2 separate regions of the Homo sapiens genome follow, and region 1 is linked to region 2. Evidence: promoter capture Hi-C in human tissues and cell types (Jung and others, 2019). All regions are on one chromosome and are shown on one strand. Each heading gives the region's core, a stretch centred on a gene start or on the middle of the fragment in contact. The rest is flanking DNA. Distances are from core to core; before and after follow the strand shown.

Evidence for each region. Contacts are between HindIII fragments. The study calls those that stand out against the background at their distance.
Region 1: a fragment that was not itself captured here is called in contact with the fragment with the promoter of PIGZ in region 2 in 2 of the 25 tissues and cell types used here (lymphoblastoid cells and spleen).

The regions. Positions count from the first base shown.
Region 1 is chr3:196,820,593-196,824,759 of GRCh38, forward strand. All of the region lies in intron 13 of PAK2 (p21 (RAC1) activated kinase 2), which reads left to right. Among named protein-coding and RNA genes, the nearest start is that of SENP5, 45 kb to the right of the region's middle. The HindIII fragment of the contact is 5,691 bases long and covers 1-4,167 here.
Region 2 is chr3:196,966,564-196,970,492 of GRCh38, forward strand. PIGZ (phosphatidylinositol glycan anchor biosynthesis class Z (Gwada blood group)) reads right to left here and starts at 2,270. Exons shown (of 3, transcript NM_025163.4): 1 at 2,124-2,270. It overlaps LOC124906255 (collagen alpha-1(I) chain-like), which reads left to right and starts at 2,570. Exons shown (of 3, transcript XM_047449439.1): 1 at 2,570-2,686; 2 at 2,833-3,649; 3 at 3,738-3,929. The coding sequence starts at 2,570. The coding sequence ends at 3,648. RefSeq lists enhancers at 1,847-2,382, 2,383-2,918, 2,919-3,454 and silencers at 1,990-2,439, 2,500-2,709, 2,720-2,779, 2,890-2,949, 3,060-3,379 and 1 more. The HindIII fragment of the contact is 30,202 bases long and covers 1-3,929 here.

The DNA of each region.
Region 1 (4,167 bases), core at 1,044-3,543, 150 kb before region 2:
GTTCAATGTTTTTCTTTGAAACTCTTATTTAGAACTTGCACGTGCCTGGCACTGTCCAAGAATTTAAAGTAGAAGGTTGATAAAACCTAATCTCTGCCCCTAACTCTGCATCTAGAAATCATTTGCTCTCTGAGTTACAAATTAATGTGTTAGGTGAAGACTTTGTAGGTTTTTAGTAGTAAGCTGTATTGTTTTGTATTTTACGTAGGAAGTTTGGAGCACCTGTCTCTAAAGCTTCTCCTTCTTTTATTTTTTAAGATGTTTTGAGACAGGGTCCCACTCTCTTGCCTATTCTAGAATGCAGTGGCGCAATCTCAGCTCACTGCAACCGCCACCTCCCAGGTTCAAGCGATCCTCCTACTTCAGCCTCCTGAGTAGCTGGGACTATGGGTGCGTGCCACCACACCCAGCTGATTTTTGTACTTTTCATAGAGACGGGGTCTCTCCATGTTGGGTCAGGCTGGTCTCAAATTCTTGACCTCAGTTGATCCACTCGCCTCGGCTTCCCAAAGTGCTGGCATTACAGGTGTGAACAACTGCACCTGGCCACTTCTCTTTTTTTTAAATTACCATATGTGGCTCAACATTATCAGTTATTAAGGAAATGTAAATCAAAACCTCAACAATCAGAGGCTGAGGCAAGAGAATTGCTTGAACCCAGGAGGTGGCAGTTGCGGTGAGCCAAGATAGCACTACTGCACTCCAGCCTGGGCGACAGGGTGAGACTCTGTCTCAGCAAAAAACAACAAAAAACCCCACCACAACAGGATAACACTTCACAACTACTAGAATGGCTGTACTCAAAAAGACAATTAATAAATATTGGTGACCGGGTGCGGTGGCTTACACCTGTAGTCCCAGCACTTTGGGAGGCTGGGGTTGGAAGTTCAAGATCAGCCTGACCAACATGGAGAAACCCCATCTTTACTGAAAATACAAGATTAGCTGAGCATGGTGGTGGGTGCCTGTAATCCCAGCTACGTGGGAGGCTGAGGCAGGAGGATCACTTGAACCCAGGAGGCGGAGGTTGCAGTGAGCCGAGATCATGCCATCGCACTCCAGCCTGGTCGACAAAGCGAAACTCCGTCTCCATAAATAAATAAATAAATGTTGGTGAGAAGATAAGGAAACTAGAAATCTCGTTCATTGCAAAATATAAAATGGTACATCTGCTTTGGAAAACAACTTGACAATTCTGTGTGAAGTTAATACGGAATTACCAGATGACCTAGCGGTTCCTCTGCTGGGTACAGAGCCAAGAGAATTAAAATCATACATCCATACAGAAACCTTCATGCAGCCACAGAAGTGGAAATAATTCAAACCTGGTGAACAGTGGAATATTATTTGGTCATAGAAAGGAAGGAAGTGCCAATCCGTGTTACAGCATTGAACCTTGAGAGTACTGTGCTAAGTGAAAGAAGCCGAACAACAGATGGCAGCAGATTCTGACCGTCTGTTTCCTGAATGCTTTTCATCCAGTTGCCAAAGATTCCAGTTTATGTGGGCCGTTAAAGTACTTCTATAGAGGTGATTAGTTTAGACCACTTTTCAGAATGACATTAAAGCCCTCTAATGTTATTCATTCATTTAGCCAGTATTGGTTTGGGTACCTGCCATGCGCTGAGCACTATTCACAATGCTGTCTAAAAGAACCCACAAAAATTCCTGCTCTTACAGAACTTGTCTTCTAGTGGGAAAAGAGAAAAACAAAATAAATCAGAATAATGTGTCATACATTGAATAATGGACTCTTGAGTACTGAGACTGGCAGGAAGGAGGTTAGGGTGTTTACTTTCAAAAGGTGCTTAGAGAGCTGGGCACAGTGGCTCACGCCTGTCATCCCAGCATTTTGGGAGGCCAAGGTGGGAGGATTGCTTGAGCCTAGGAGTTCAAGGCCAGCCTAGGCAACATAGTGAGTCCCCATCTCTACAAAAAAATTTAAAAATTAGCCAAGCATGTTAGTGTGTGCCTGTAGTCACAGCTAATTGGAACCATCATCCTGCCCCAGTGCGTGGGTCACTTGGGCCCAAGGAAGATGAGGCTGCAGTGAGCTGTTATCACATCACTGCACTCCAGCTTGGGTGACGGCTAGGACCTGTCTCAAAAAAAATACAATAAAAATAAAATGTAAAATTAAATCAAAAGCGTGCATAGGGAGGGCTTCCCTGAGGTGACATTTGGACACAGGAAGTAAGAGCGTGATACTTACCTGAGGGAAAAGCATTCTAAGCAGAAGGCACAGCAAGTGCAAAAGCTCTAAAGCAGGAGCGTTCCTTGTGTATTGAGAGATGATTCTGGACCTCAGCACAGCTGGCGTACGCTGAGCAAACAGCGAGAGGTGCGGTCGATCGGCGAAGAAACCAGGCCAGACCGTAGTGCCTTATGAGAGCTCTGGAAGGATTCTGGCTTTTACTGGAGGCCAAATGGGGAAACTGTTAGAGAGATCTGAGCAGAGAAGCAAAGTGGTCTCCTTCAGTTTTAATAGGATTTCCCTGGCTGCGTTGTTGAGAGATCCCTGAGGAAGGCAAAGGCAGAGCAGAAGACCAGTCAAGAGGCTGATGTCATAATTCAGGCAAGCAGTGATGATGGCCTAGACCAGGGCAGTATCAGTGGAGGTGGGAAAAAGTGGTGTGAGTCTGGATGTATTTTGAAAGAAGAGTCTACATGAGAGAGAAAAGACTAACGGGATCTGTTCCCAAGTAACTCAACTGCATTCCTGTACAAAGCTGAAGAGTCTTACAGGGCTGCGTCTATAGCCAGGAGTACGCTCAGGCTTCAGAAGAGGCTCGCCTCCAGTGGCCTTCACTGTGGCAAAAAGGTCTACTTGAACCTCAGTGAGATCGGTAAAATCACCAGCGCCAAGCTCCTATCAGCAGATCCAGAAGCTGATCAAAGATGGGCTGATCATCTGCAAGCCTGTGACTATCCATTCCCAGGCTGGATCCCCGCAAACAAACAAACAAACAAACAAACAAAAAAAACACCTTGGGCCGGGCACGGTGGCTCATGCTTGTAATCTCAGCACTTTGGGAGGCCGAGGTGGGCAGATCACTTGAGGTCAGGAGTTCATGACCAGCCTAACATGATGAAACCTCGTCTCTACTAAAAATACAAAAATGAGCCAGGCATGGTGGCGTGCACCTGTATTCCCAGCTACTCGAGAGGCTGAGGTGGGAGAATTGCTTGAAACTGGGCGACAGGGAGAGATTCTGTCGCAAAAAAAAAAAAAAAGAAAAAAACACCTTGGCCCACAGGCATATGGGCATAACTGCTAATGCACACATTACCAAAAAGGCAGCCTGGATGAGGAAGATGAGAATTCCACCCCAGCTGCTCAGAAGACACTATGAATCTACCGAGATTGACCTTCACGTGTATCAGAGCCTGTACATGAAGTGAAGGGGGACGTGTTCAGAAACAAGCAGGTTCTTCGGAACTCATTCCAAGCTGAAGATAGACAAGGCCTCAAGAAGCTTCTCATTGACCAGGCCAGGGCACATGGCTCTAAGACCAGGAAAGCACTGTAGTTCCACGGAGAGTGCCTCTGGGCCAAGAGAAAATCATTAAGACTGTCCCAGGAGGAAGAAACTAAGAAATAAAGGTCTCCCTCTCTCGTCTGTACATAGTGGATCTTGGTGATTACATAGATCCAGTCATTCAAATACAACAAGATTTTATCTGCCTGATGGGGGGAAAAAGCATATTGGTAGGAATACAGAAATAGCCAGGACCCAGCAATCACCCAGACATCAGTCAAAGTTTACCAGACAGGCAAAGGAGCAGGCAGATGCAGCCCATAATGAGAAAAACTTCCAGGCAACTGGAACGGACAGAAGTTCATTAAAACAATCTCACGACTGCATTTCAGTTGTAAGAACTTTAAATGCATATTGCTTAGTGAAAGAATCCAGTCTAAAAAGGCTACATATTATTTCAACTGTAGAGAGTAAAAATGATTAGTGGTTATGGGGTTTGGCAGGGGATCGGGGGTAGAGAGGATGAGTAGGTGAAGCACAGGGAATTTTTTTGGGCAGTGAAATTACTTTGTATGATATTATAATGGCGGACACTGGAGAGCATTCATTTGTCAAAGCCCATGGAACAACTAGGCACGGTGGTGCACACCTGTAGTCCCTGCTGCTTGAAAGGCTGAAGCAGGAGGAT
Region 2 (3,929 bases), core at 1,020-3,519:
GGGCCCATCTGTCAAGGACAGAGCAGGAGGTCCTCCGGAGAAGGTGACAACGTAGTGGGGCATCGACCATAACAAATGCGGGAGCTCCAGGGAACGACCCCCGCCCGCTGGCGTCTCTCCAGTCTGAGACCCCACTGGAGGAGCTGTCCATGTGGCTGCCTCTCGCCTTTTATCCCAGGGGACAGAGCCAACGCCAAGCATGGCAACCACCCACCTTAACCTAATCAGGATGCAGCCTGCTCATTAATTCATTCATTCATTCAGAGGGATCTGTCCGGGTGCGGGTCCAGCACGGGTCCAAATCCTGCATCTCCAGTAGCCTCCTGGGGGTCGGTCGTCGGGAGGGCTCGTGAGCGGAAGGCTTTAGGATGAAGCGACAGGGCCCAGAGTCGTGGAGATTGGACTGGGGGGCAGGGGAGCAGGCATTGACAACCACGCCGACAGGGGCATCCCGCGCGCCTGTGTGGGAGAATGTGTAGGGCAAGCAGCAGGGAGAGACCATCTCAGAGACAGGGGAACAGCCAAGCAGAAACCACTGTGCTGGGCGCGGGGGGAGGCCGGGAAAGACAGCACATCTGCGGGGCGGGAGGAGGGGAGGGAAGGGAGTAGAAACACTGCTCCCGCCAGCCGCGGGTGATGGGGACACGTGTCCAGCTCGCTGAGTCCGAGGGCCTGGGCCCGCTTTGGGTGCCCTGTTTCTCCGGCGCCCAGGTGTGTGCGCAGAACCGTGTCTGCTCCAGGGACAGCCGTGAACGAGCGCCGTCCGGAGTGGCAGGGCCATCAGGTGTGGCTCATTCCAAGAAAGGTCCGTACCTTCACATGTAAACTTCCTGGCAAAGCTGCTGGGTTGCCGCTTATGGGAGAAGGCGGCGGGCCCAAGGTTCGGCCCCTTTGTCTGAATCTGGCATTTGGAGCAGGCTTTAAGACTTCGGGAAAAGCCGGGCCCCTGTGCAACCACCAAAGGCTGCTTCTCCCGCCCTCAGGACTAAGATCTTGTTCCAGTCCTCCAGTCCTCGGGGTCTACTCCAGGGGTACAAGGTGAGAGTGGCTCTCCAGAGTCCATTTGCCTTTTGGTGCCGCACTGCATCCTCACTTTGACCCTGAGCGCTGCAGTAAGCCCTGCAGGGTGCTCCACCTTGAAGCACGGGAAGATCTGATGCTGGCCGCCTTCTTCCTTCGGTTGCCTGAAAGGGCCCGTGTTTATCCTTCGCTTCACAGAGAACGCAACACACAACATTAAACACACATAGAGAGTGAAAGAGAACAAGGCATCTTCATCAAGGAGGGCGCACCATTTAACCACCCGCGACCTTGCAGTGCGCCTCTGCAAAGTGGGGACTCCGCTCTGTAGCAGGAGATGGGGGTGTTGACGATTTTGAAAGTAGTTCTCAGTTTTCCGAGGCAAAGGTGTCTGGGGCTGACGAATGACTTTTGAGAAGAAGGAATGATGAGAAATGTCCTCATTACAGAACTTTCCCGGCCACACTGTGAGTCCCACGCAAAGACCCCATGACCACCAACCGGAGCGCTGGGTGCTCCCTGGCAGGGTCACCTTTGCTTTTTGCGCGCCCCCATGCCACCCCTGGGGCAGGAGGCCATCCTCTTATCCTGGGAGTGCAGGCCTGGCCCGAAGTGCAGCCCCCGAGGCCGGGAGCCGAGATTCTTCTCGGCTTCGTGCTCAGAGCTTTGCAGCGTGGCATGGTTTCCTCCTCTTGCCCTGTTGCTGTTTCATACCAGGGGGAACTGAGACCCAGTCGGGTTATGGGCCTCCCTGAGAACACTGGCCTCTAGCAGAAGCAGATTCAACCCCAGGCCTCAACCTGCGCCCAGACCCGTGCCCTGGAGTGGAGTTTACCCACTGCCGCCCTTCCTGGGCAAATGTCACCGCTGCCTCCGTCCCCCTAGGTCCGGGGCGGGTCAGTGCTTCGAGCCAGCGGACCCCGGCCTAGGGACAGGTGCCTGCGAGAATGCGGGGGGCGGCCCCCAGCTCCCCTGCCCTCCTCCCTAGAGGCTGGGCCTGCTGGTCTCCCGGCTGCGCGCAAGGTGGGAACGCGGCCGACTTGGTCCGCTCGCCCTCCCCGCACCCGCTCCTCTGGAGCCGCTGGGGCTGCGCACCGACTCACCCGCGCGGCCTCCGGGCTGCGCCTTCAGCGCTGGCGGCGTCCTGCCCGGCGAGGGCCAGGGTCCCAGGAGGCCCCGGAGGCGGCGGGACCGCAGGGCGGAGGGGAGGCCGTGGGAGCGGCCGGGCGCGCCTCAGCAGCGCGGAGACTGGGGCCGCCGCCGCCGGCGCAGGGCGGGCCGGGAGGGAGGAGGAGCGCGCGGGCGGGGCCGCCGTGTACGTCCCCGCGCTCCCGCCCGGCCTGGCCCCGCGGTCCCGGAGCGAGCTGGGGCCGCGCTGGGGAGGGTCCTGGGGGCGCCGCCGTCCCTCGGGCCGGGCAACGCCGGGCGGGGACCGGTCTCGCCCCGCCGCGCTCGGGCTCCCTCCCCGGCGGCCCCTCCTCGGCGAACAGCCTTTCGGCGCGGGGGGCTGTTAAACCAGACACCCCAGGCCACACTCCTCTCGTTCGAAATGACCATTTCGGGGTTCTCCGTGGCGGGGAGCTCCGCCGCCGCCGTCCCCCTTCCACGCGCGGGAGGTCGGCGAGGGCAGGGCGGGGACCCGGAGTGCGGCCCCCGGTCCTGCTTCGTGGCCCGAAACGCCTCGCAATGGAGTCACTCATGACAGGGGACTCAGCGCACGGGGCGGCTGCTGAGCCCCGCAGCGATCGGCGGGCGTGAGGGGTTCCCCGGCGTGGTTGCCCGGGAGCCTGTCAGCCCCAGCAGCCCTGACAGGAAAGGGAAGTCGAGAGGAGGCTGAGCGAACGGCCGCCACCCCCGCGGGACGCTGACCCGGGCGGACCCCGAGGGGCCTCTCCCCGCGCCAGAGCGCGGCGTGCGCGGGGAAGCGCGACCCACCGGGGTCGGCGACGGCGCGCGGGGCGGGCGCGGCGGTTCCCTCTCCTCCGCCCGTGCCCGTGGGATCGGCGGGCTTGTCGGGCTGGGAGAGCCTCGTGGAACCCGGGCATCCGGGCAGCAGCGGCCTCCGAGCCACTGTGGAGGCGCCCGGGGTCGGCACGGCGAGGCCGACGGGGACCTGACACGGTCACGCGGCGCCGGGGAGCAGGTTCGAGTGGCCGGGCGTGGCCGTGCTGCCCCTCCGCGTTCCGCAGGCGGCGACGGGCGAGCGGCCCTAGCGGGCTGCAGGGAGGACGCCGCGTGGACGGAGAGCCGGCGCCCGGGGGCCAGATCCCCTCCCGGGACGGGGCGCCAGGTCCCCGCGAGCTGCGGCGCGACGCGCGGGCACCCGTGTCCCACCCGGTGGCCTCGCCGCTGCGGGCTGCGCTGAGAGCGGGGTGGCGCGACGCGGTCCCTCACCGCAGGGGGAAGACGGCACCACCGCGTCCCGGCCGCTGGAGCTTCCCGCCCGCGCCGCCGGCCCGACGCTGCCCCCTGGCGGGAGAGCGCTGCAGGGGCCCCGGCGAGGCCGCAGGACCCGACCTCCCCGCCGGCCTCGCACTCCCGCGCCGCCGCCGAGGGTCGGCAGCCGGATCGCCCTCCGTGCCCCATAGCACCCCTCACACTAAAAACGACGACTTTATTAAGATGTGAGGTATTCTATACATACGATAAATACCAGGAAATTTAAGTACAGTACATGGAAGTATACAGTTCCATGAATTTTTTCCTTTATTTTTTAGATACAGGGTCTCTGTCGCCCAGGCTGGAGTGCGGTGGCACGATCTCGGCTCACCGCAGCCTTGAACTTCTAGGCTCCAGCGATCCTCCTGCCTCAGCCTCCCGAGCAGCTGGGACCACAGGCCCCGCCACCATGCCCGGCTCAGTTCCATGACTTCTGACACGCGAAACCACCAGGCTAGTCTCCCCCCGAG